Linked DNA regions of Homo sapiens: regions 1, 2, 3, 4, 5 and 7 are each linked to region 6. Evidence: promoter capture Hi-C in 16 types of primary human blood cells and fetal thymus (Javierre and others, 2016). All regions are on one chromosome and are shown on one strand. The core of a region is centred on a gene start or on the middle of the fragment in contact, and the rest is flanking DNA. Distances in the headings are between cores, read along the strand shown. Region 1 has its middle 21 kb from the start of SUB1. Region 2 overlaps PDZD2 (PDZ domain containing 2). Region 3 has its middle 16 kb from the start of ZFR. Region 4 has its middle 53 kb from the start of ZFR. Region 5 overlaps SUB1 (SUB1 regulator of transcription). Region 6 holds the start of GOLPH3 (golgi phosphoprotein 3). Region 7 overlaps PDZD2 (PDZ domain containing 2).

What was found. Contacts are between HindIII fragments. The CHiCAGO score rates a contact against its expected background, and 5 or more counts as called.
Region 1: a contact is called between a fragment that was not itself captured here and the fragment with the promoter of GOLPH3 in region 6, in 14 of 17 cell types (total CD8 T cells, total CD4 T cells, naive CD4 T cells and 11 more). The highest score is 21.1, in total CD8 T cells.
Region 2: a fragment that was not itself captured here is called in contact with the fragment with the promoter of GOLPH3 in region 6 in 1 of 17 cell types (naive CD4 T cells); the score reaches 5.6 in naive CD4 T cells.
Region 3: a contact is called between a fragment that was not itself captured here and the fragment with the promoter of GOLPH3 in region 6, in 2 of 17 cell types (M0 macrophages and total CD8 T cells). The highest score is 6.8, in M0 macrophages.
Region 4: a fragment that was not itself captured here is called in contact with the fragment with the promoter of GOLPH3 in region 6 in 4 of 17 cell types (activated CD4 T cells, total CD4 T cells, non-activated CD4 T cells and 1 more); the score reaches 6.6 in activated CD4 T cells.
Region 5: a fragment that was not itself captured here is called in contact with the fragment with the promoter of GOLPH3 in region 6 in 16 of 17 cell types (naive CD4 T cells, fetal thymus, total CD8 T cells and 13 more); the score reaches 33.6 in naive CD4 T cells.
Region 7: a contact is called between a fragment that was not itself captured here and the fragment with the promoter of GOLPH3 in region 6, in 1 of 17 cell types (non-activated CD4 T cells). The highest score is 5.2, in non-activated CD4 T cells.

Annotation. Positions count from the first base shown.
Region 1 is chr5:32,605,023-32,608,918 of GRCh38, forward strand. No RefSeq gene overlaps it. Among named protein-coding and RNA genes, the nearest start is that of SUB1, 21 kb to the left of the region's middle. The HindIII fragment of the contact is 3,243 bases long and covers 1-3,234 here.
Region 2 is chr5:31,826,642-31,830,721 of GRCh38, forward strand. The region is part of intron 2 of PDZD2 (PDZ domain containing 2); the gene reads left to right. Among named protein-coding and RNA genes, the nearest start is that of MIR4279, 110 kb to the right of the region's middle. The HindIII fragment of the contact is 976 bases long and covers 1,523-2,498 here.
Region 3 is chr5:32,458,932-32,462,587 of GRCh38, forward strand. No RefSeq gene overlaps it. Among named protein-coding and RNA genes, the nearest start is that of ZFR, 16 kb to the left of the region's middle. The HindIII fragment of the contact is 604 bases long and covers 2,088-2,691 here.
Region 4 is chr5:32,495,988-32,499,593 of GRCh38, forward strand. No RefSeq gene overlaps it. Among named protein-coding and RNA genes, the nearest start is that of ZFR, 53 kb to the left of the region's middle. The HindIII fragment of the contact is 655 bases long and covers 1,198-1,852 here.
Region 5 is chr5:32,588,332-32,591,983 of GRCh38, forward strand. It overlaps SUB1 (SUB1 regulator of transcription), which reads left to right. Exons shown (of 5, transcript NM_006713.4): 2 at 181-253; 3 at 3,232-3,354. The coding sequence starts at 182. Among named protein-coding and RNA genes, the nearest start is that of SUB1, 4.6 kb to the left of the region's middle. The HindIII fragment of the contact is 545 bases long and covers 1,541-2,085 here.
Region 6 is chr5:32,172,461-32,176,419 of GRCh38, forward strand. It overlaps GOLPH3 (golgi phosphoprotein 3), which reads right to left and starts at 1,859. Exons shown (of 4, transcript NM_022130.4): 1 at 1,350-1,859. The coding sequence starts at 1,574. RefSeq lists a silencer at 1,143-1,752. The HindIII fragment of the contact is 5,568 bases long and covers 866-3,959 here.
Region 7 is chr5:31,851,914-31,855,606 of GRCh38, forward strand. The region is part of intron 2 of PDZD2 (PDZ domain containing 2); the gene reads left to right. It overlaps LOC124900953 (a long non-coding RNA gene), which reads left to right and starts at 2,943. Exons shown (of 2, transcript XR_007058717.1): 1 at 2,943-3,255. RefSeq lists enhancers at 1,417-2,090, 2,091-2,763. The HindIII fragment of the contact is 355 bases long and covers 1,377-1,731 here.

The sequences.
Region 1 (3,896 bases), core at 363-2,862, 430 kb after region 6:
CATGAACAGGACTTTTCTTTGCCCACTTGCTTCATTCACATAAGCCCCTTACAGAGTCCACACCTTCCCAGACCTGCTTTTATAGACATTTTAGTCCTGGATTAATAGTGACCCACTGCCTAAGTGAAATGCTCCTCTTCACTTTTTAGGTTCTTGATAGTTTAAATGGTTTATCCTTCTGCTGGATAACTTACTGCATAGTTAGGAGATAAGATTTATGCCACTTTTTAACTGCTCCTGAATTTCAACTCATTTCAATAGTTGGATAATGTAACCTCCATGGGTAACAGGAAGACTGTATATGTAGTTCAGAAATCAGCTGAAGTTGTCTATGTAGTAACTCACGTATCTTGAAAAGTGATGTGAAAGTTCCAGTTTTGCCTTCCTAAGTAAGCTAAGCCCAAGTCTTTTAAAATGTTATGTATTTATTTTTTGAAGAGACAGGGTCTTTCTGTGTTGCCCAGGCTGGAGTGCAGTGGCTGTTTACAGGTGTGATCCTAGCGCACCATGGCCTTGCACTTGTGGGCCCAGGTGATCCTCCTGCCTTAGCCTTCCTAGCATCTGTACACTGCAGGTGTATACCACTGTGTCTGCCAAGCCCAAGTCTTTTAATAGCTCCTATTCTGAAGGCTTTATTTTTCAAGTATGTAGTTGTTGCAGGAATGGTACAGAAAACTCCCATGTACCCCTCCACTCAGAGACCCCATTCAGATTTTGTGAGTTTCAGTGTCTTTTAGCAAAAGCATGTAACACAGGATCACGTGTCTCATTTGATTCTCTCTTTACTTCAGTTTCCTTCAGCCTGACAGTTCCTTAGTTTTTCCTTGACTTTTACAACTTTGATGTTTCTGAAGATTTGGTAACATGAAGGCCATTGGTGGTGGTGACAAGGGTGGGGAGGGCAGAGGCTGGTTGAGTGAGGAGTGGAGACTGTGTGTAAGTTCATTTGAGCAGCTTGGTTGTGAAGGATAAAGAAAAATAGGATGGTGGCTGTAGAAGGGTGTGGGATCCAGGGCAGAGTGTGATTGAAATTACAGTGTGCAGCATCTGAAGGAAGGTGGTAAGGTTCCTAACTTCTTCGGTATGAATTTAAGTTGACCTTTGGTGTCAGCAATGGTTTCTTTTTTTTTTTTTTTTTTTTTCCTGAGACGGAGTCTTGCTTTGTTTCCCAGGCTGGAGTCAGTGGCGTGATCTCGGCTCACTGCAAGCTCTGCCTCCCAGGTTCACGCCATTCTCCTGCCTCAGCCTCCCGAGTAGCTGGGACTACAGGCGCCCGCCACCGCGCCCAGCTAATTTTTTGTATTTTTAGTAGAGACGGGGTTTCACCATGTTAGCCAGGATGGTCTCGATCTCCTGACCTCGTGATCCGCCCGCCTTGGCCTCCCAAAGTGCTGGGATTAAAGGCTTGAGCCACCACACCCGGCGTCAGCAACAGTTTCAACCACTTCCCACTTTTTTTTTTTTTGGTGACTAAGTGCCACCTGAACCATGAGTACTTCTAGTAATTTTAAAGAAAAATATGAATTACTACTTTTTTTTTTGTTTTTTTTTTGAGACGGAGTCTCGCTTTGTCACCAGGCTGGAGTGCAGTGGCACGATCTCGGCTCACTGCATCCTCCACCTCCCAGGTTCAAGCAATTCTCTGCCTCAGCCTCCTGAGTAGGAGGGATTACAGGCGCCCACACCAGGCCCGGCTAATTTTTTGTACTTTTAGTAGAGATAGGGTTTCACCATCTTGGCCAGTCTGGTCTTGAACTCCTGACCTCGTAATCCACCCGCCTCGGCCTCCCAAAGTGCTGGGATTACAGGTGTGAGCCACAAATTACTTCATTTTAACAGGAATTCGATCACTTGGTTCTCACGCCCCTCTTCTCCACAGCCAAGCTCTCCAAATTGAGACCAGGGCCTAGTCAAACCTTGGGTTTTGGGATCTGGTACCAGTCATGTCTAGCCATGAGCCATTCTCATTTATTGTTTTAAGGTGCATGAGATCTCAGTTCCTTGTTGGAGTCACAGGGCCTGCGCTGGATGGGGAGCCTATAAATGAAGGGAGGAAGTTTAAGACCTCTTTAATCTATTGGAGGAGCCTCGGGAATGGCTCCTAGGCCACAGGGTCGCAGATGGAAATGGCCCCTCTAACTTGAAGAATGTTTGCTTCCTATTTCAGTGACCTTGCACTTGATTTTTTTCCCCCACGTATTTTATCTTTATTTTTTTTGAGAGTCTTGCTCTGTCACCCAGGCTGGAGTACAGTGGCGTGATCTTGGCTCACTGCAACCTCCACCTCCCAGGTTCAAGCGATTCTCATTCCTTAGCCTCCCTAGTAGCTGGGATTACAGGTGCGTGCCACCACACCCGACTAATTTTTGTATTTTTAGTAGAGACGGGATTTCACTGTGTTTGCCAGGCTGGTCTTGAACTTCGGGCTTCAAGCAATCTGCCCGCTTTGGCCTCCCAAAGTGCTGGGATTACAGGCATGAGCCACTGTGCCTGGCCCCCAACGTATTTTATTCTGAAAAATTTCAAACCCAGAGAAAAGTTGAATCAATAGTATAAGGAACACTCATATCCTTCACCTATTATTTTGCAACCTTCTGTCTCTTTTTGCTGAACTGTTTGGAAGTAAATTGTAGAAAGTTAACGTACGCATATGCTGAGCTATTTTTACTTCTGAGCCAAGTGTGTGTGTTTTTTCCATCACCACTTCTCTTACTCCATTTGGGTGTCCTACAATTTAATTCTGATACCATCTACGTGGAGTTAGTGTGTCAGATCCCACAAGTTAAGGGCTCAGTCCCACAAGAAGGCCCCCACTTCAGATGCCAGCCGTAAGTCCATGGTTGTCACTGGTACTTGTGACCAGTAAATTCAGAGGGTTTCCACAATCCCCTTCTCACATTTGATAATTGACTGGAACCATTCACACAACTCAGGAAAGCACTTTATTCACAATTACAGGTTTATTATAAAGGATAAAACTCAGGAACAGCCAAATGGGAGAGATGCCCAGGGCAAGGTATGGGGAAGGGAGATGGAGCTCTGTGCCTTCTCTGGGAGCACCACTCTCCCAGCACCTTACTATGTCACCAACTTAAGTCTCTGAGCCCCATCATTTAGGGTGTTTTTATAGAGATTCCATTACACGTGATTGATTAAATTTTTAGCCATTGGTGATTAACAGTCCTCACTTCCTCACCCATCCCCAGAGGTTGGGAGGTGGAGCTGAAAATTCTAAGCTTCTAATCAAAGTTTCATCTTTCTAGCAACCAGTCCCCATCCTGAAGCTGTCTAGGGGCCCTGCCAAGAGTCCCTCATTTGAACAAAAGATCCTACTATCACTTTTAACTCAAGAAATTAGGTTTTAGGAGCTCTGTGCCAGGAACCAGGGACAAAGACCAAGTATCTCTGATGCCACTTAGGCATACATGTTTACACACATACATACATGTGTATACATCTATACAATTTTTTGGATGAATATTTGAAAGTAAACTGCAGGCATATTTCATTTTAAGTACTTCAATATGTATTTCCTAGGAATGGAAAGATACTTTAACATTTTTTTAATGGAAAATAATCATATTTTGCAAAACAAAATTATGAGTGACATTATTTTACATTTTACCAATCTCTTTAATAGAACATGGCTGGATTCTCCTGTTTGCTTCTGCAGATAATCTTTTGTTTGGGTTGAGGTATGTGAAGAAAATGTGGCCTCACAGAGATGTGTAGTTGGAAAAGGGAGGAATACTTTATTATTTTTTTTTTCTGAGACAGTTTCGCTTTTGTTGCCCAGGCACCATCTGGGCTCACTGCAACCTCCACCTCCCGGGTTCAAGCGATTCTCATACCTCAGCCTGCAAAGTAGGTGAGATTACAGGCGTATGGCACCATGC
Region 2 (4,080 bases), core at 761-3,260, 350 kb before region 6:
CTCCAGCCCGGGTGACAGAACAAGACTCTGTCTCAAAAAAAAAAAAAAGATATATGAAACCTGTTTATTCGATATTATCAATGTAAATTAAAACATTTATCAGATATTACCCAAATGAGCCACATGCATTAGGTATATGCTTCTCATTTACTTCTTACAACATCCCTATGAGGTAAGAGGCGAGTATTATTACCTGCATTCACAGATGAGGAAATATAGGCTGAGAAAGATTGGATAAACCCATCTATTAAGAGACAGAGCCTGGAATCGAGCCGGGGTGACCTGCCTCCAAGACCTGAGTCTTTTTTTGCTGGGATGCTCTGTCAATTGCTACCCATATGCCAAATAGTGTGTCTGTCCCTATAGACAGCACGTCCATTCCCCAGAAAGGAGCGTAACCTTCCTGTAGGCAGCAACAATTCTGTAAGTGGCATCCTGGCCAGGGAACCTTGCTCTTTATTCATGAGGTCACTGTCTTGCCACTTCCCCACTATGGAGGGGTGAACCGGGAATCAGAAAATCTGGGTTCTGAACACTTTCTTAATCTATATTTATTCATTTAAGGATATTTACTGACCACCTACTGTTTCAGCTCTGGAACTGCATATTGGGGAAATACTCTTCTATAAAACATATAAAGTCCCTGGTTTTCTGGGGCCTTTATCCGTGCCTTGGAAAACTGACTTATCCTTGTAGGCGTAATTGTGATTAATAACGATATGAAGGAATTTTTAAAGTAAGCTTTCTTGTTATATAATAGCTTTCCTGAGGCTGGGTGTGGTGGCTCATGCCTGTAATCCCAACACCTTGGGAGGCTGAGGTGGGTGGATCACTTGAGATCAGGAGTTCGAGACTAGCCTGGCCAACATGGTAACACCCCGTCTCTACTAAAAATACAAAAATTAGCTGGGTATGGTGGCATGCGCCTGTAATCTCAGCTACTCAGGAGGCTGAGGCAGGAGAATTGCTTGAACTGAGAGGCAGAGGTTGCAGTGAGCTGAGATCACGCCACTGCACTCCAGCCTGGGTGATAGAGCAAGACTCTGTCTCAAAAAAAATAAATAAATAAAAAAATAAAAATAATTTTAAAATGGCTTTACTGAGATGTTCACCTACTATAAAATTTATCCTTTAAAATGTACAATTGAGTGGTTTTATAGATTCACAGCATTGAATATCACCAATATCTAATTTTAGGACGTTTTTATCCTTCCAAAAAGAAGACACATACCTATTACAGGGATTCTCCATACTCCGCTTCTCCAAGCCCCTGGAAACCTACTTTCTGTTCCTATAGATTTACCTATTCCAGATATTTCAGTACATGGTCTTCTGTACTGAAAGTGTAATGACTTCAGTGCTCATCTGTGTTTCAGTATGATTCAGAACTTTACTTTGTTATATTGCCAAATAGTATTCCATATGTTTAACCACATTTGTTTAACCATCCATCCATTTGTGGACATTTGGGTCATTTCCACTTTTTGACTATTATGAATCATGCTGTGAACATTGGTGTACAAGCTTTTGTGTGAGTATGTTTTCAGTTCTGTTGGATATATATGTAAGAATGGAATTGATGATGATATAGTAACTCTATGTGTAACTTTTTGAGAAATCTCCAAATTGTTTCTCAGGACTATTTTACATCCCCACCAGCAGTGTATAAGGGTTCTAATTTCTCCACATTCCTGCCAACACTTGTGACCTGTCTTTATGAGACCAGCCATCCTAGTGGGTGTGAAGCTGTATCTCACTGTGACTTTGATTTGTATTCTCTAATGATTAATCATGTTGAACACCTTTTCATGTGTTTTTGAACCTTTGTATATCTTTGGAGAGATGTCTATTTATTTTATTTTTTAAGACAGGGTCTTCCGCTGCCACCCAGCCTGGAGTGCAGTGGCATGAGTGCAGTGCAGAGGCTCACTGTAGCCTCAACCTCCTGGGCTCCAGCAATCCTCCCACCTTATTCTCCTGAATAGCCAGGACTACAGGCATACGCCACTACACCTGGCTAATTTTGTAAAAAATTTTTTTGTAGAGACAGGGTCTTGCTGTGTTTCCCATACTGGTCTCAAACTCCTGGCCTCAAGCCATCTTCATGCCTCAGCCTTAGAAAGCACTAGGATTATAAGCATGAGCCACCATGCCCAGCTAGAAATATCTATTTTAATTCTTTACCCACTTTTACATTGAGTTGTAAGAATTCTTTATATAGCCTAGATACAAGTTCCTTAGCAGATATATGATTTGCAGATATTTTCTCAGGCAGCTGCACATATTAAACAATTGCCATGGATTGTTTTCAACAAATAACCTAGGGACAAGGCTACTTTTGCAGCATCAGCTCTGAATCAAGTCAAGTAAGGAGAAACCTTGAAAATGGAGCCTTTCAGAGAGCTGTTGGACAGGTCAAGTAATAACAATTCTGTGAAGATAGAGTTTTTGGGGGCTTCCAAACTTGTTCTGCCTCAGTGGCTGCTAGTGATGTTTCAAGCTTTTGGCTAACTTCCAGAGTTCTGAAAAAGTTGATTTTGGTCATTTTTTCTAGTGTTTTTGTTACTCTTATAGAGGTGTGGATTTTTGGAGGTCTTTATTTTTATCATTCCAGAAGGGCTTTTTCCAGTAAACTTATCTTTGAAATACGATATACGTAAAGGCACATATCAAAAGTATTCAGCTTAGTGAATTTTTTTTTTTTTTGAGACAGTCTTGCTCTGTTGCCAAGGCTGGAGTGCAGTGGCATGATCTCAGCTCACTGCAACCTCTACCTCCCAGGTGCAAGCTATTCTCCTGTCTCAGCAGAGTAGATGGGATTGCAGGCACCACACCTCGCTAATTTTTGTATTTTTAGTAAAAACAGGGTTTCACCATGTTGGCATGGCTGGTCTCAAACTCCTGACCTCAGATGATCCACCCGCCTCGGCCTCCCAAAGTGCCAGGATTACAGGCATGAACCACCACACCCAGCCCAGCTTAGTGAATTTTTATATTAACCATCACCCAAACTGAGAAACAGAACTTAACTAGTATGTCAGAGCCCTCCTTCTTACCTCTTACCAGTTACTAACCCCCCTTTACCAAAGTAAAGTGGTATCCAATAGCTGTAAGAACTTTCCTATCTATGGCTGGGTGTGGTGGCTCATGCCTGTAATTCCAGCACTTTCGGAAGCCAAGGTGAGTGGATCACTTGAGGTCAGGAGTTCAACCTGGCCAACATGGTGAAACCCTGTCTGTACTAAAAATACAAAAAATTAGCCGAGTGTGGTGGTAGGTGCCTGTAATCCCAGCTGCTCTGGAGGCTGAGGCAAGAGGGTCGCTTGAACCTAGGAGTCAGAGGTTGCAGTGAACCAAGATCATGCCACTGCACTGTAGCCTGGGTGACAGAGCGAGACTCCATCTCAAAGAAACAAGAAACAAAAAACTTTCTTGTCTAGTACCATTCTGATTTTTTCCAACTGTTTCATTCTACTTGTTCACATTTTCCCTCCAAACCACTCCCTTAATACATTTAATCCAATGGCTTTTTTTTTTTTTTTGAGACGAAGTTTCGCTCTGCCGCCCAGGCTGGAGTGCAGTGGAGCGATCTCGGCTCACTGCAAGCTCCGCCTCCCGGGTTCACGCCATTCTCCTGCCTCAGCCTCCCGAGTAGCTGGGACTACAGGCGCCCACCACCACGCCCAGCTAATTTTTTTTTTTTTTTTTGTATTTTTAGTAGAGACGGGGTTTCACCGTGTTAGCCAGGATGGTCTTGATCTCCTGACCTCGTGATCTGCCCGTCTTGGCCTCCCAAAGTGCTGGGATTACAGGCGTGAGCCACTGCACCTGGCTCTGATGGCATTTTTAACTTGTATGTTTTATTTTTTTAATATTCAACTTTTAAAAAATTATGAACTAGCCTATTTGGGACATCCATTTGTTTCTGTCAAGCTCCTCCTGCCTCCCCAGATTCCTCTGTCATCACAGCCATTTCCCTATCAGTAAGCCAGGCCCTGGAGTATTGGCTGTTAATTCTCCTCTATCCCTTTTTCCCAGACTTGCAGACACCCTTGATCATCCACATAAAAAGGGAAGCTG
Region 3 (3,656 bases), core at 1,140-3,639, 290 kb after region 6:
TCTTGATTTCTGCAGGCCCGCAGGCCCAATACCATGTGGAAGCTGCCAAGGCTTGGAGCTTGTACCCTCTGAAGCAATAGCCCAAGCTGTACCTTGATCCCTTTTAGCCACAGCTAGAGCTGGAGCAGCTAGGACACAGGGCACCAAGTCCTGAGTCTGCACAGAGCAGCGGGACCAAGCTCTGGCCCAAGAAACCATTTTTCCCTCCTAAGCTTCCAGGCATGTGATGGGAGGGGCTGTTATGAAGGTCTCTGACATGCCCTGGAGACATTTTTTCCCATTGTCTTGGCTATTAACATTCAGCTCCTCCTTGCTTATGCAAATTTCTGCAGCCGGCTTGAATTTCTTCCCAGAAAAATGGGTTTTTCTTTTCTACCATATGGTCATGCTGCAAATTTTCCAAACATTTATGCTCTGCTTCCCTTTTAAACATAAGTTTCAGTTTCAGATAAACTCTTTGTGAACACACACGACTGAATGCTTTCAGAATCAGCCAGGTTACCTCTTGAATGCTTTGATGCTTAAAAATTCTTCTGCCAGATACCCTAAATTGGTGGGGAGTGGTGGCTCACACCTGTAATCCCAGCACTTTGGGAGGCTGAAGTGGGTGGATCACTTGAGGTCAGGAGTTCAAGACCAGTCTGACCAACAAGGTGAAACCCTATCTCTACTAAAAATACAAAAAATTAGTAGGGTGGAGTGATGGGTGCCCGTAATTCCAGCTACTCAGGAGGCTGAGACAGGAGAATCGTTTGAACCTGAGAGTCAGAGGTTGCAGTGAGCTGAGATCATACCATTGCACTGCAGCCTGGGCAGCAAGAGCAAAACCCCATCTCAAAAAAAAAAAAAAGAAAAAAGAAATTTCTTCTGCCAGATACCCTAATCATCTCTCTTAAGTTCAAAGTTTCATAGATCTTGGCTGGGCATGGTGGCTTATGCCTGTAATCCCAGCAATTTGGGAGGCTGAGGCAGGTGGATCACTTGAGGCCAGGAGTTTGATACATGGCAAAACACTGTCTTTACTAAAAATTTAAAAAATTAGCCAAGTGTGGTGGTGCACGCCTGTAATCCCAGCTACGCGGGAGGCTGAGGCAGGAGAATAGCTTGAACCTGGGAAGCTGAGTGTGCAGTTAGCTGAGATTGCACCACTGTGCTCCAGCCTGGGCAACAGAGCAAGACTCTGTCTCAAAACAAAACAAAACAAAACAATGTTCCACAGACCTCTAGGGAAGGGGCAAAATGCCACCAGTCCCTTTGCTAAAGCAGAGGAAGAGTGACCTTTGCTCCAGTTCCCAATAAGTTTCTCGTCTCCATCTGAGACCACCTCAGCCTGGACTTCCATATCACTATCAGTATTTTGGTCAAAACCATTCAATAAGTCTCTAGGACATTACAAACTTTCCCGCATCTTCTTCTCTTCTTCCAAGCCCTCCAAACTGTTCCAACCTCTGCCTCTTACCCAGTTCCAAAGTCGCTTCCACATTTTCAGGTTATTATAAAGATAGCAGTACCGTGCTATCCCAGTACCAATTTTCTGTATTAGTTCATTTTCGTTCTGCTATAAAGAACTGTCTGAGAGTGGGTAATTTATAAAGGAAAGAGGGTTAATTGACTCACAGTTCCACATGGCTAGAGAGGCCTCAGAAAACTTAAAATCATGGCGGAAGGGGAAGGGGAAGCAAGGCATGTCTTACATGTAGCAGGACAGAGAGAAAGAGCAGGGGAAACTACTTTTAAACCATCAGATCTCATGATAACTCCCTCACTATCAGGAGAACATCATAGGGGAAACTGCCCCATGATTTAATCACCTCCCACCAGGTTCCCCCTGACACATTGGGATTACAATTCAAGATGAGGTTTGGGTGGGGACATCGAGCCAAACCATATCAGAGGTGGAGCCTGGTGGGAGGTGTTTGGGTCATGGGGACAGATCCTTCATGAGTGGCTTGGTACTGTCCTCACAATGGTGAGTTATCACAAAATCTGGTTGTTTAAAACTGTGTGGTACCTCCCTGCTCTCTCTTTTGCTCCTGCTTTTGCTGTGTGACATGCCTGCTCCCCCTTTGCCTTCCACCATGATTGAAAGCTTCCTGATGTCCTTACCAGAAGCAAGTGCCAGCACCACACTTGTTGTACAGCCCGCAGAACCATCAGCCAGTTAAACCTCTTTTCTTTATAAATGACCTAGGCTTAGGTATTTCTTTATAGCAACATAGGAATGGCCTAATACGGCCTGCATACACAGACACGCACATGTGCACATGCACACGTGTGTGCCTGTGCTCACAAACACACTCAAGCCAGGGAAGGCCCTACAAAAGGTACAGTCCATGTAGGGAAACGAACGCATCTTCTTGAGAGATTGTTGGCACTACTTGAGAGATTCTTCAGCTGTAAGAAGTCCTTTTGTAGGGGGCTACATTTCTAGTCCTAAGTTCCAAGTGTTTGGGTCATGTTATCCATTCAAGCTGAGATCTGGATTAAAACCCAGTCATACCCATCTGGGGAAGGCTTTAACTGCCTTCTGTTGTCTGTAGCCATCTCCATTTACTTCCCAGCTTTTACAGAAGAAGTCGCATACATTCCTCTCCCGACTGATCCAGGCTCTCTAATCTTCACTGAATTGCCCAGAAAAGATGCCCCTTTCCTTAAGTCCATGTCATCAGAGCGAACTAAATCACAATTACAAGCTTCCATGCATGCAAAAGCAACAAGACCAAGGAGAGGTGCCAACATTCCCCACTGTTACTGGAAAAGGGCCCACATGGTGGCTTTCAGTCATTTTACTATGCTCCCATAAAGGCACCTTTCTTCTTTCTTCATTAGTTCTGATTTCTACAACATAAGATCATATTAGGATTTCTAAAGGGCAGAATATTATAGGCTTTTGAAAATTTTTAACTGTTAGAGACTCTCTAAATCCAGTGATTCTCCAAATTCCTAATAATAAGAGTCACCTAGAGATTCTTCCAATTATACAAATTCCTAAATCCCACTGCGTTTTCACTAAATCAGAATCCCAGGGCCTTTGGTTGGAGAAATCATATGTTAAACAAGTCCTCCCAAATGAGTCTTACCAGCAAGTAAGTTTGGGAAACGTTCTGCCCAGCCTCATAATTCTAAGGATGAGGACGCTGAAGCCCAGTTTTTGTCCCCTCTAAAACTCATGTGTTGGAAGCTTAATCCCCAAGGCAACAGTATAGGGATGTAGGGCCTAATTGGAGGTGTTTAAGCCCCCCTGAGGGGTCCACCCTCATAAATAGATTAATGCCACTTGTGAGGACACAGTTTCTCTTTGTACGCTGCCTTCCACCATGTGATGGCGCAGCAAGAAGCCCCTCACCAGATGCCAGCACCTTGATCTTGGACTTCCCAGCATCCAGAACTGTGAGCCAATAAATTTCTGCTCATTATAATAAATTAGCCAGTTTGTGATATTCTGTTATAACAGTACAAAATAGACTAAGACACCTAAAGAAGTTGAATAACTTATTGAAGATACCTGTGTTTACGCTTGTGTAAGTACAGACTGCTTCTGGAGGGACTGTGCCTGTCTTAGGGGAAACAGCCTGGAGAACTGTGAATCTAAGAGGTAAAAAAAGACTTTATTTTTTCATTATATGCCCTTTTGTGATGGTTAGGGAAACATTTTC
Region 4 (3,606 bases), core at 275-2,774, 320 kb after region 6:
TAAGAATTTCAAGATATTGACTGTAAAATGTTAACTAAGTGCAGGGCCCTTCTCTGTACAGAAATGTGCAACTGTGCAGGTCACACACCCATGAAACCTACTGGACTCCTGCTCTGGAGAATTGATAATACCTTGTAAATTGTAGGGTTCTTTGGAGGATCTGTTAGTCCCAGCTCAGTTTCCATCTTGGATCTTATGTTTCTCCCGTCGGCTTTCTTTCATAGATTTTATTCTCCCTCTGATTTCTGACACTGAAAATCCAAGATTAGAGCTCTCTCAAAAGTGCCTCAGAGCCCGTCTTCCTGTTTTTGACATGAAACAGCCACTTTCCTGGATTAACTTCATGCTAGATGAAGTCATGCAATATGGTTAGTGTGGAAGACAGGGTTTTGTTGTTGTTGTTTTAAATTTGTTAGCTGTAATGAACTCATATGCTGCTCCATAGGTCCCCGGCTGTCCTTTTTTTGTCTTCTGAGTTTTGTTCCGCCTTAGTCTAGGGGTTGAGGAAGCTGTTTAGGTCAGGCCCACAGAAATTCTGGCCATGGGCTACTGCATGGTCCAAGTGAGAAATAATGGCAACTGGGATGGGGAAGAAGCCTTGGAGATAGAAAAGGGCTGATTCAAGAGAGAGGGAAAATGTACAATCAATAGGAGTAGGTTGAATTGAATAAGAGAAACAAGGGTATCAAGGATTTCCAGCTTGAATAGAACATTGTTCCTCTTGTTCATGTGCTGGATCAATGTTTAATGAATTTCCCCCATGTACCAGGCACTGTTAGACTGTTTCAGATATTTAACCCCTTCCCCCTTCATCACTATTGTTATTATTTTTGAGACAACGTCTCACTCTGTCACCCATTCTGGAGTGCAGTGGCGCGATCTCAGCTCACTGCAACCTCTGCTTCTCGGGTTCAAGTGATTCTCCTGCCTCAGTCTCCCAAGTAGCTGGGATTACAGGCATGCACCACCATGCCCAGGCTAATTTTTTTACTTTTAGTAGAGACGGGGGTTTCACCACGTTGGCCACACTGGTCTCGAACTCCTGACCTCAAGTGACCTGCCCACCTCTGCCTCACAAAGTGCTGGGATTACAGGCATGAGCCACTGCACCCGGCCTGATCAGGTGATGGATCTTAAGACTCTCCCATGAGAGGGCTCCCACCCTATACCATGGGGGAAAGAATGTTGATGTCATGAAGCTTCTGTAAAAACCCAAGAGGACATGGATCAGTGAACTTCCGGGTAGCTGAGCTCCTGGAGGTTCCTGGAGGGTGGCGCTTAGGGAGGACATGGAAACTCTGCGCCGCTTCCCTAATATCTCACCCTGTGCATCTCTTCTCGTGTATCCTTTACTATATCCTTAATAATAAACCAGTAAATGTGTTTCCCTGAGTTCTATAAGCCGCTCCAGCAAATTTATTGAACCCATATAGGGGGGTCATGGGAACCCCAACTTGAAGCTGGTCAGTAAGAGGTTCTGGAGGGCCGACCTTGCAACTGGTGTGTGTTAGTGGGGGTTCAGGAGGCAGTCTTAGGGACTGAGTCCTCAGCTTGTGGGATCTGACACCATCTCTGGGCAGACACGGTTGGAACTGAATGAGAAGACCCTCCCTGGTGTCCGTTGCTTGGTGTGTGGGGAAAAAGCCCCATATATTTGGTCACAGAAATCTTCTGTGTTGATGATTGTTGTGGTGTGAGAGTAGAGGAAAAACATGGTTTCAGGAGAGTTTTTCCCTACACAGTTTGATACACTGAACGTCCCTAATTTTGGTGAACACCCTTAAAATTAGTGCTTTTGGGGGAAGAAGGGACTAGATTGATGAGTTTTTCAAGGAATAAAGAGAAGAAAAGAAGCTTAAGAAGCTTTTTCTTGGCCGAGCATGGTGGTCCCATGCCTGTAATCCCATCATTCTGGGAGGCAGAAGGATTCCTTGAGGCTAGGAGTTTGAGACCAGCCTAGCCAACAAAGCGAGACTGCCGCCTGCCTCCAATCTCTACAGCAAAAAAAAAAATTAGTGGGGTATGGTGGCGTGTGCCTGTAGTCCTAGCTAATTGGGAGGTTGCGGTGGGAAGAGTGCTTGAGCCCAGGAGTTTGAGGCTGCAGTGAGCTGTGATTGCATCACTGTATTCCCACCTGGGTGACATGATGAGACCCCCGTCTCAAAAACAAACAGGCTGGGCGTGGCGGCTCACACCTGTAATCTCAGCACTTTGGGAAGCCAAAGCAGGTGGATCACTTGAGGTCAGGGGTTCAAACCAGCCTGGCCAACATGGTAAAACCCCATCCCTACTAAAAATACAAAAATTAGCTGGGTGTGGTGGCACGCACCTGTATTCCTAGCTACTGGGGAGGCTGAGGCATGAGAATGTCTTGAACCTGGGAGACAGAGGTTGCAGTGAGCCGAGATTGCACCATGCACTCCAGCCAGGGCAACAGAGTGATACTCCATCTCAAACAAACAAACAACAACAACAACAAGAATCTTTTATTCATGGAACCCAATAGAAAAGGTGGAGAGACATAAAAAAAAAAATTAAATTCTACAGAGGTATCCACCTATGCCTGTGCCCAGTCTGTCATCCAGCAGTTTGGTTTCAGTGTTTAGTGATTACCTCTGTGTGTCTAAATACTATGTTTACACTGCTTGCTATTTCCTGGTTTATCATCTTTAGACATTATCTCTTGACTTCCTCTTGTGAAAGATAAGGATTTAACTTGCTCACAAAGATAAGGATTTAACTTGCTCACACTCCTGTCCCAGTAAAGCTATATCATTATTTTTAGTTCCTCTACTGGTTTCTAACATTAAGTAATGGACTGGAATCTCTCTTGTTCTAGTGATTTCAAGGAGTATCTTCTTCTCCCTTTATTGAAAGCAAAAAAAAAGCTTGCCTTTCCCTTCAACACAACTGTCCATCTTTTACTTCCCAATTTCCGACATCTGTCATTTCACTTTCACCTCGTCAGGCTGATAAACTTTACATTCTGTTCTGTATCCACAGTTGACTCCACCATGCTTTGCCTGTAGAGCTGGATTCTAAAAGGCGAACATCTCCAGGGGAGGATGGGAGTGGGGATCGAGGTTTGGGGGTTTCTCTGAGAGAGGGCCTGACCTGAAGAGGCCACCTGGACAGGAATAAGGGGCTTTTCCTTAAAGGGTTTTGTTCAAGAACCCAGGAACTGGGTGGGAGCTGAGTCATTATCTGCAGATCAGTGGTCTTCACTGGTCCTTATCTGCCCCCAGGGGCTCAGCTGGCTCTGCTTCCCACTGACATCCCTTGAGAATGATCTCTTTAATAGTAGCCAGCATCTCCTTCAATGTCAGTGCAATCTGGTGACTCCCGTCCATCTCCAAACCTTTGCTCAACCCCTATATTACTTTTCCTATAAGGTTAACCCACACTTCATAACACCCTGTGACTTCAATAAACCCCAGAAAAGGAAGCTGTAACCTGGAACTCATGGGGTGGAATCCCCCTACATTGGTCTTGGAGCTTGAGAGGGTGGAAAGGTACCAGCTTATGACTCCCCATCCACCCACGCAGGATTGGAGCAGTGGCTCTCTAGACATTTGTCCCTCTGACACAGACCTTTCTTTCTTTTTC
Region 5 (3,652 bases), core at 563-3,062, 420 kb after region 6:
TATTTGCAACTTAAAAGGGTATAGATTAAAACTTGTGCTCAGTGTAACAACTCAGTACCACAAAAATGGTAGAATGAACCGTGGAACTTGTCCTTGATTTTTTTCTTTGATTGGGGGAGAGCTAAGTTGAAAGTAGTAGAGTACCTTATTAATTATTTTTGTAATGTATTTTTCTTTCAGGATGCCTAAATCAAAGGAACTTGTTTCTTCAAGCTCTTCTGGCAGTGATTCTGACAGTGAGGTTGACAAAAAGGTGACTACTGCTGCACCAAGTCATTTTGGTGATACTCAACAATATTGTCCATATCCCATTCTGAAGGATAGTAAAAGGTGTATTAACATCTTAAAATGAGGATCTAGCTGGGCGCGGTGGCTCATGCCTGTTATCCTACTTCTTTGGGAGGCCGAGGTGGCAGGATTGCTTGAGGCCAAGAGTTCAAGACCAACCAGGCTAACATAGCAAGAACCTGTCTCTTTAAAAAAATAAATAAATAAAAAATAAAAAATAAGAATGTGAATGGGTATTTCTGGAGGTACGGTTGGTCTCTGGACCACTTGACTAGAAGTGCCTAGGATGCTTTTTGCACATTCATACTCATAGGCCCTAAATCAGACTTAACAAGTCTTCTGTTGAGCATCATTAGGAACCCTAAAGTTGCAGAAACACTGCCTTGCATCCTAGGGTCATAGAATTCTAAGTAGGCCAAAGTCACTATTTGCCGTTATTTAGAAATTTACCAGATTTTTTTTTGTAAAATGTTAATTTTTTTTTTTAAAGACAGGGTCTTACTCTCTTGCCGAGGCTGGAGTGTGGTGGCACCATCATGGCTCACTGCAGCCTCGACCTCCTGGTCTCAAGCAGTCCTCCCACCTCTGCCTCCAGAGTAGCTGGGACTACAGGCATCATGCCTGGTTAATTAAAAAAAAAATGTTTTTGTAGGGACCAGGTATTGCTGTGTTGCTAAGGCTGGTCTCAAACTCCTGGCCTCAGGCAATTCTTCTGCCTCAGACTCCCAAAGTGCTGGGATTACAGGTGTGAGCCATCATGAGTGGCCATAAAATGTTAATTTTGACAGTTCTCTTAGTTACTGGTGTTTATTCTGCACATAAGGTTTTCTGAATTTTAGACTTGGTACATTTTTAAGTTTGTACTAAGTTTGTGCTCTGGTCCCTTCCATTTAATTAAATCAGCACGCAGTAAAGCTAACTTGAAACCCATTGACAAGATAGGCTTTTTCTGCATTAGATGACAGCTGCACCGTAATTGGTGAATTTCGCTAAATTGAGCATCTCAGTGGAGCATAACTGAGCGTCTCACTCTGCGGTCAAGTCTTCCGTGCAGAATTGTCTTTTATCGCATAGAACTTTACATATCTGAAGAGATATTTATATCCTAGAAATAGAATAAGTTGGTCGTGTTTTTCCTAATTAGTATATATCCTTTGTAAAATAGTAAGTAATGACTAGCACTGGTAGACCTGTGATTTCCGAAAGTTTATTCAAAAGAAGCAGGCTCCCTATCTTTTTTTTTTCCTCCTGAAGCTTAGCAATTTTAGCTAAAAGAAAAGGGGAGAGCGTATGGGAGATTGGAGAAGTTGCAACCTTAAAGTATAAATATAGAATATAACAACACATGGAAGGGTAAAATAAGGCTTCAAAGACTATACTTGAGTAAATTTCTTAATTTTAAAATTTGCACCCTATATAGTATTTGAGTATGTTGATGTAACACATGTGTATTGAGCTTTTATTTGCCAGACATGCACTATTCCACAGGGAATACTTAGAGCCTGATTTATAGAATAATTGCTTTCTGCATATTGAGCTAACTTTTTGTTTGTCCCAAATAGTAATATTACTCTTGTAAACACTTAACCTTGTATACCACATTTTTCATTTCATGTTTTACATGTATATAATATTTTTCCTAGCTTCATCTAATTTGGTAACATTCAATTAATTTAGTAACATTAAAATATTTATACTATTCCATCAAGAAGGAACATGACTGCCCTCTTCTGTTTGGGTTGGGTATTGTAGTGGTTTTTATGGGTTAGCTCTTTTTGAGAATGCGACTTTCTAATAAGCTTTTAAAATAATGCTGTTTTTAAAACAACGTTGTGATTTTTGAAAGCTAGTCTAACACATAGCTGTCTACAATGATTTTTTTTTTTTTTGTAATGAGGAAGTTCTTGAGTTGCTGGCTGTCAGTGCCCAGTGCAAAATAGCTCTCTAAAGATTTGCCTAATTGTAAATTCCTTTTTTTTTAATTTTTTATTTTGAGATGAAGTTTTGCTTTTGTTGCCCAGGCTGGAGTGTAATGGCGCGATCTCGGCTCACTGCAACCTTCGCGTCCCGGGTTCAAGCGATTCTCCTGCCTCAGCCTTCCGAGTAGCTGGGATTACAGGCGTGTGCCACCACGCCTGGCTAATTTTTTTTTTTTTTTTTTTTTTTGAGATGGAGTATCGCTCTGTTGCCCAGGCTGGAGTGCAATGGCACGATCTCGGCTCACTGCAACCTCAGCCTCCTGGATTCAAGCAGTTCTCTGCCTCAGCCTCCCTAGTAGCTGGGATTATAGGTGCCCACCACCACGCCTGGCTAACTTTTTTTGTATTTTTAGTGGAGATGGGGTTTCACCATGTGGCCAGGCTGGTCTCGAACTCCTGACCTCAAGTGATCCTCCCGCCTCGGACTCCCAAAGTGCTGGGATTACAGGTGTGAGCTACCGCGCCCGGCCCATAAATTCCTTAAGCCAGCATAAATTCCTTTTGGAATAGGCAGGACATAAATAAACATATCCTGGAAATGGAATAAGTTGGTTATATTCTTTTTAATTAGTATATCTGCTTCGTAAAATAAGTAACTGACTAGCCTTAGTAGACTGTGGTTTCCAGGTTTATTCAGAAGTAGCAAGATCCCTCCATTTTTTTTTCTACCAAAGAAATCGTATGTGGGATCCCAAACCACAAAATAACCGTTCCTGTGGTTAATACTACTATAATGCCTGAAGTGTCTTTTGGGATCCTGAGAACAGAGTTTGAAAACATTACTAGACAGAAGGATTGGTTAGATTCATAGTTTTGTTGTTGAGTGAAACTTGCTTATGTATATATTTATGATATTTTGGATGTAGTCTTTTGATTGTTTAAATCTTAAAAAGTAATGGGATCTTTTGACACTGGGGTATGTTTTATTTTTATGTGTGCAAATTTTAACCATATTCTTTTCTAGTTAAAGAGGAAAAAGCAAGTTGCTCCAGAAAAACCTGTAAAGAAACAAAAGACAGGTGAGACTTCGAGAGCCCTGTCATCTTCTAAACAGAGCAGCAGCAGCAGAGATGATAACATGTTTCAGGTAAAGTTGGCTATTTTTTTTTTTTTTTTTTTTGACATGGAGTCATGCTCTGTCACCCAGGCTGGAGTGCAGTGGCGCCATCTCGGCTCACTGCAACCTCAGCCTCCTGAGTTCAAGCAGTTCTCTGCCTCAGCCTCCCGAGTAGCTAGGATTACAGGCATCCGCCACCAGACCTGGCTAATTTTTGTATTTTTAGTAGAGATGGGGTTTCACCATCTTGGCCAGGCTGGTCTTGAACTCCTGACCTTGTGATCCAACTGCCTCAGCCTCCAAAAGTGCTGGGTTTACAGGTGTGAGC
Region 6 (3,959 bases), core at 609-3,108:
CCGAGGCAGGCGGATCACTAGGTCAAGAGATCGAGACCATCCTGGCCAACATGGTGAAACCCCGTCTCTACTAAAGGTATGAAAATTAGCTGGGCATGGCGGCGCACGTCTGTAGTCCCGGCTACTCGGGAGGCTGAGGCAGGAAAATCGCTTGAACCCGGGAGGCGGAGTTTGCAGTGAGTGGAGATCGCGCCACTGCACTCCAGCCTGGGCGACAAACTGAGGCTCCGTCTCAAAAACAAAACAAAACAAAAACACAAAATTAGCCGGGCATGGTGGCGCATGCCTGCCTCAGGAGGCTGAGGCAGGAGAATCGCTTGAACCCGGGAGGCGGAGATTTCGGTAAGCCGAGATCGCGGCATTGCACTCCAGCCTGGGCAACAAGAGCGAAACTCCGTCTCCACATAAATAAATAATCATTTTTGTAGGCAAATATAACAAATACAGCAAAACGTCATAGAATCTAGAAAGAGTATATATGCATATGTATCTATCACTTTTTCAACTTTTCTGTGTGTGAAAATTTTGGACACTGAAGTGAAAATAAACGCTTTCAAAGTCAGAATACAAAGAATTATCTATTGCAACTTCAACCCACCTGAAGCTTTGAGGCCTCTGATCAACTCACAAACCTACATTTCAAGCACTCGATGAAAAAGCCCTTTCTTAAGACGGCAAGACTTTGAGATTCATCAACTGATAAAATATAAAAGCGATACTAAAAATAATCTCTCACCTAATGTAAGTTCACCTAGAAAGTCATTTACCAGGAGGTTTCATGAGAAACTTAACTTAACTTTACTCAGTAAAAGAGCTTTTCCCTCTATTACCACTTCGCCTACGTTTTTCGTAATTCCCAACAGTAAGCTTTAACTGAAGAAGAAGAAAAAAAAAACATCCCCAGCAAGCAGATCCGGGCACCCCTCCCAGGTCCTAAAGCCTGCAAAAACCCAAAGAGTTCGTGGCGCTGGTGGCTCCAGCTGTTAGTTTCCCGGGCAGTCTCCGGGTTGGATTTGCACCCTGGGGTCTACACGGGTTAAAAACGCGGAAAAAAGGCGACGAAGAAATACAAACTGCCAGGGTGTCGAAATGAAAGGAGCGACTGTGAAAGGGGTAAGGAAAAATCCAAGCCATCTCTACGGGGAGGATCCAGAAAGCACCAGCCGCGCCAGGGGGTCAACCAACTCCGACACCGCTCGGCGTCAGCTGGGCGCCACCAGGCGCGGACTTCGGAGCGAGGGCAGGTGCGCGGGCCGGAAGCCTCGGGCGCTCACCTGGCACCTACCTGGAGCTCACCTGGCGCCCGGGCCCCGCGCCGCCGCCCCCCGCCCAGCCCGCCGCGCCCGCACCTCGCGGTCCTTGAGGCCCAGCAGGAGCACTTCCTCCATCAGGGTCAGCCGCGTTTCCTTGGAGTCGCCCTTGTCGTCGTCGTCCTGCTCGTCGCGGCGGCTCTGCGCGTCGTCCTCGCTGCTGCCGGCGCCGCCGCCCGCCGCCCGCTCCTTGTCGGCGGCGTTGCGGGAGGCCTCGGTGCGCCGCTGCACCAGGCCGGAGCTGCGCTGGGTCAGCGAGGTCATGGCTCCCGCCGAGGCGCCGAGCCGGGCCGAGAGGGTCGCAGGACCGACCGGGTCGCCCTCCTCCTCCCCGCGCGGCCTCCGATCCGGGTTTCCGTGTTAAATCCGGACGCCGGGGCGACGTCCGTCGGCAGCAGGGCCGGGGGCAGTCATGAGGAAACAGGTCAGGGCGAAGCGGGCTGGCCGGGCGTCGGCGGGGCAGGAGAGGAGCGCCTTCCTGCCTGTGGCCGCAGTCCCCGAAACACCCCGAGCTCCAAGGCGGAGGCGGCGGCGGCGCCTTTCCAATATGGCGGCCCCGGCTGACGTCACCGGAGGATGTGGCAGAGTCGGCGCGGGAGAGCTGGGCCGGGAGGCGCCGGAAGCGGCGGCCGGGGATCCGCTGCCACTGCAGCCTACACCCTTCCCGGCCCTCGGTGCTTGTCTTTTCTTTGGCGTTCCTGCGCCCCCTGACCCGCGGTCCTGCAGTCCTGCTCCCGTGACGTGCCCTCCCTCCTTCCGTTCCCCGTTTCCCCTTCACTACCCAGGGCTGGAGCCTGAACCTGGCGGGGCCCCCCGTGAATGGAAGAGCCTGGGCCACGCGAAGGTGGACCCCACTCAGCCTCCAGCCGTGCCCTCCACGCCCCAGACACCGCCGTCTTCGGAGGCGACTCCGCGGTCGTGTGGACGGGGTCCCATTTGGACTCCGGGGTCTGCAGGATCGGCAGGAAGGACTTTGCTCTCTGCTGCTGGGCGGGGAGGGGTACGCTATCTGCCGGGACTCCCTAACCCTTTAGAAGGAGCAAGTGCGTCCAAATGGTTTGAAAGTGGACCTTTATTGTTTTCCAGGAGTAAGAAGATAGAACAGTTGACCAGTTTTGTTTGTAAAACTTCTTTCCTTGCCTCGGACTTGTGCTATAAAGTGACCAGGGCGTAGTGAGTACAGTTAGTACCGCACACGTTAGCACGCTCGACCTTAACGATCTTTTTATAGAGACAATAAACCTGCAGCGTTTCATGCCACGTCTTTGTACGCATCGGATGTCTCTCCGTGTAGTTACTAGGTGAAATCCTCTTGGCGTGCGCAAATTAGGTTAAAAAAATAGCTGTCAAACCTGAGACAGGAGTTGGAGGAGTAGAGGGTGGCGCTTGTTAAGTGAAACATTTAACCAGGAATGGTATTGTGTGCCATCCTGTATTAAACAATGTATGGACAGAGTGGAACAACAGCAAAGCAAAAAATAAAAATTTTTTAAAAAAAGTGATCATGGGCTGTGGCTAAAGAGTGCTTTAGATGGATTCTTCTCTTCCACAAATCCATTATCCAGAACTGCTGCTGCCTACCATCCCATGCCCTGGAAAGTGACAGTGCTAAATGAAGGGAAGAGAGGGTCCAGGGGGCACACCAAGTAGACCTTCCCTTTTTCCCACCTGTCTTGGTGAAGGTCGATTTCACCTCAACCAATTTCTCCCATTCACACCCTCTTTTTTTTTTTTTTTTTTTTTTTTTTGAGACGGAGTCTTGCTCTGTTGCCCAGGCTGGGGTGCAGTGGCACAATCTCGGCTCACTGCAAGCTCTGCCTCCCGGGTTCACGCCATTCTCCTGCCTCAGCCTCCTGAGTAGCTGGACTACAGGCGCCCGCCACCACGCCTGGCTAATTTTTTGTATTTTTAGTGGAGACGGGGTTTCACCGTGTTAGCCAGGATGGTCTCGATCACCTGACCTCGTGATCCGCCGGCCTTGGCCTCCCAAAGTGCTGGGATTACAGGCGTGAGCCACCGCGCCAGCCCACACCCTCTTTGGACCTTTTTTCTTCATCTTTTCTGATTTTACCAAATGTTGTAGCTTGAAATATTTCTTTGTAAAATAAATGTAATTAATTTATTATGTGAAAAAAGTTAATCAGGAGTAGTGGCCCACATCTGTAGTCCCAGGTCTTCGGGAGGCTGAGGCAGGAGAACCGCTTGAGCCCAGAATTTGAGGCTGCCATGAGGGTGATCGTGCCACTGCACACCAGCCTGAGAGACAGAGCAAGACCCTGTCTCAAAAAAAAAAAAAAAAAATTGGCTGGGCGCGTTGGCTCACGCCTGTAATCCTAGCACTTTGGAAGGCCAAGGCGGACGGATCAGGAGGTCAGGAGATCGAGACCATCCTGGCTAACACGGTGAAACCCCGTCTCTACTAAAAATACAAAAAATTAGCCGGGCGTGGTGGCGGGCCCCTGTAGTCCCAGCTACTCGGGAGGCTGAGGCAGGAGAATGGCGTGAACCCCGGAGGCGGAGCTTGCAGTGAGCAGAGATTGCGCCACTGCACTCCAGCCTGGGTGACAGAGCGAGACTCCGTCTCAAAAAAAAAAAAAAATTACTTGACTAATATAGTCAAGTATGTAGTTCAAAGAGTACAAAGATATG
Region 7 (3,693 bases), core at 304-2,803, 320 kb before region 6:
TGGTGGGATCTCGGCTCACTGCAACCTCCGCCTCCTGGGTTGAAGTGATTCTCGTGCCTCAGCCTCCTGAGTAGCTGGGATTACAAGTACCCACCACCACACCTGGCTAATTTTTATGTTTTCAGTAGAGACGGGGTTTCACCATGTTGGGCAGGCTGGTCTTGAGCTCCTGACCTCGTGATCCGCCTGCCTCGGCCTCCCAAAGTGCTGGAATCACAGGCGTGAGCCACCGTGTCTGCCGTGTGGTCCCATTTTCAATTCCCAGCACTTACGTGCCCCAGACTGAGCTGAGGCAACAAAGATGAGGATGGGGGCAGAATATTTCTTTGCATTATACTTAAAACCATACATTTATTTTTATTATTTATTTATTTTATTTATTTTTGAGACTGAGCATTGCTGTGTCGCCCAGGCTGGAGTGCAGTGGCGCAGTCCGGGCTCACTGCAACCTCTACCTCCTGGGTTCAAGCTATTCTCTTTCCTCAGCCTCCCAAGTAGAGTAGCTGGGACCACAGGCGCGTGCCATCACGCCTGGCTGATTTTTGTATTTTTAATAGAGATGGGGTTTCACCATGTTGGCCAGGCTGCTCTCAAACTTCTGACCTCAAGTGATCCAACTACCTTGGCCTCCCAAAGTGCTAGGATTACAGGCATGAGCCACCACGTGCCTGGACTTTATTATGTATTTATTTTATGTTTTTGAGTTGGAGTCTCACTCTGTAGCCCAGGCTGGAGTGCAGTGATGGGATCTCGGCTCACTGCAACCTCTGCCTTCCGGGTTTAAGCAATTCTCCTGCCTCAGCCTCCCAAGTAGCTGGGATTACAGGTGCCCACCACCACACTCAGCTAATTTTTGTATTTTTAGCAGAGATGGGGTTTCACCATGTTGGTCAGGCTGGTCTCGAACTCCTGACCAAAAGTGATCCACCCACCTCGACCTCCCAAAGTGTTGGGATTACAGGCGTGAGCCACTGCGCCTGGCCCATACATTTACTTTAAACAGCATTGATGTACACATCATCAATTATGTACCTGGATTGAAGGAGTGGAGAAAGAAGCTAAAACATTGGGAAACTGTTGTGGAAAAAACACTCAGAAAGGAAGCAAAGGAGCACTTCTCAAATTATTATTAGAAAATTATTCAATTTGAACTTAATTCCCATAAAACTTATAGGATGCTAATGAAAGACTACCACTTCCTGGCAGAAGAGTGGGAAAAGGGAAGGGGGTGGAGCCAGCATTCACTGAGACCCTTATAATATGTGTAAGCCAGACACTTTGTGTTAGAGAATTCTAATACCCTTGGTTTTTTCTGAAATCATCAGCCTAATTTGCTTTGACCCAGGAATTGCGATGTTTGGAGGACTGGTCTACAAAGCTTGTTCTCACTGGGCACATGTAGTGTTCTCCTAAACTCCATGAGGTATTGTTGGTTGCAGTACCCAAAACTTCTTGAAATAAATCTTATCCTGGGGTTCTGTTTCCTTTTGGTTCTTCCGAAGGAGGAATACCATGACCTGACACTCCTTGCCTGTTTCTGGGTTGGCTGTTGTGCCCACCTGAATGAAGCAACTAGGGGTAATTCCAGGACTGGTAATGATGATAATTATTTACTATGTGCTCTGGGGCTGCTTCTGAGAGTGGGCAGATTTCCAGCCCAGGCTTGACATGGGTTGGCCCCTCCTGGGCTTTAATTACCCATTCCGGTGGCAGTAATGGTACTGGAATTGAAGCTTTCTTTTGCCTCCTCCATTATAATTAATTGCTTCGAATTCCACCAGATCTGTCCGTTGCAAAGCTCATTTACTTTTAGGGGCTGCTGGATGCCCACAACCAGAGCTTAGAGCCAGAGGGGTGGAGTGGGACTGGGGTGTGACTTAACCTGAACCCCAAGGAGTGGAGTGTGTGCCTGCCTGTGCAAGTCCCGGGAGGGAGGCCCAGGGCTTGAGTGAGTTTGTTTGCACTGAGATTGGTGCCATCAACCTCAGGAGCTCTCCATTCCTCTAGCTCAGGTCCCTGGGAGCTCCACCCTGGGTGCCTTTTGAAGCCAGGTGAAATGTGTTTTGAGCAGACGTTCCATAAAGGCTTGAGGTTTGGCACCAGTGACGCTTTTACTTTTCAACAAGTGTCAGGAGTGGAAAAATGGAAGAGAATACAGCTGAAGTTTTGAAAAGCAATGAAATGTGGGGTGACTCCCCCTCCCGCTGCCAGCCCCCCTCCCCTGCTTTAAGAAAAGCAAACACTCTTTTCCTGTCTTATTTGTGTTCCCATTAATTTAAGACAGGAAGCCTCAGTGGGTGTGATGTAAACAATTCGGCCTCGTGGGTCGGGCTTCCTCATCAGTTTGCAGCTGGAGCGATGGCTGCAGGGCCCAGGCCCACTCAGGCCTCCTGGGGGAGGGCTTGTTGACTGAACCCCACAGAAGGTGGGAGGGGTAGGGGAGCGGGAGAAGGTATAAAGGAAATGCTTCAGTCGTGCAGTCACCGGCGATTGTAATTCAGCGGTGTTAACTTTGGTTACTCCAGCCGAAAGGCTCTGACCGGGGATTTCTGGAAAGTTCCCTGACATCCTGCCCCATACGATGGTTGTGATTTTAGCTGGGGGCTCCACCCCTGTAAGAACTCAGGCTGCCGCGGATTATGAAACGGAGTGGTCATGAAGTGAATTGATGTGGGAAGGTGGAGCTTCTTGCAATGGCTCGGAGGGAGAACTTTTGGTGCAAACGAGGGTCTAGGGTAGGGCGCTTTTTCCTCTAACCTGCTCCAGGTTTGCCCCAGGAAGCTCCTGAGCCCTCGGTGTAAACAAAGGTGTCTGGATGAGAAGCCCCAAACTCCCTGAAATCCTCCCCAGGGCGGTTTCCTTTTCCCGGCGAGGGGAGTGACCGGGGAGGGGATCTTGGAATGCCGTGGGGTTTTGACAAGTGAGCAGGGGAGTGGCGAGCCGAGTTTAGGATTGCATTACAGGCTTTTCCTAACCTCCTCCACCGCGGCGCGGAGGGAGGAGGGGGGGGTCCTCCCACAGACCTGGAGCCGGCGGAGAGCAGCCTTCGGGAAGTCCTGCAGGAGCCGCGTTCCAGGAGGGCAGCTGGCAGCCGCCCCAGGCCCCCGGGCCGCCTGCAGGTGATTAGGCTAATGAGCTGCCCCGGGGGCGCGGAGACCGGCCTGGCGAGCGGATTACCCGGCGCCCAGCTGCTGCCGGCGGAGACTCCCAGGAGCTCCGGAGAGGAACCCTCCGAAGGTGACTTCAGAACTGGAGGTAGGAAATCGGCTTCTCAGGCGAAAGCCTCAGGTTTTCTGATCTGATCCAGGTCGGGTGCAGACTGGGGCTGAATCCACAAATGTGGAGATTTAGCCACAGCCTCGGAGGCGCGGAGCGGCCACCTAAGCGTCTGCCCTTCTCGTCTCCCGGATCACTGGGGTGTGTTGTTTTTAAAGTGGGGGATTTGCGTGTTGAGAGACGGTTTGTGTTCCTCGGGAGGAGTAAGTGACTTGGAGCTGGTTTGTCAATGGCTGGACGGAAGGAGGCGCCCCGGCTGTGTGTGACGGGCAGGGAAGGGGTGCCCAGAGGGGACAGGTAATAGGGGGTTCCGGAGCCACGGCGGTTTCAGAACCTTGGGGCCTGTGCCGTTGAAGCCCCGGTAGGGGCGGGGGGCATGGCAGCAGCCCGGGAAATCTGTCATACTGTCCCCCATCC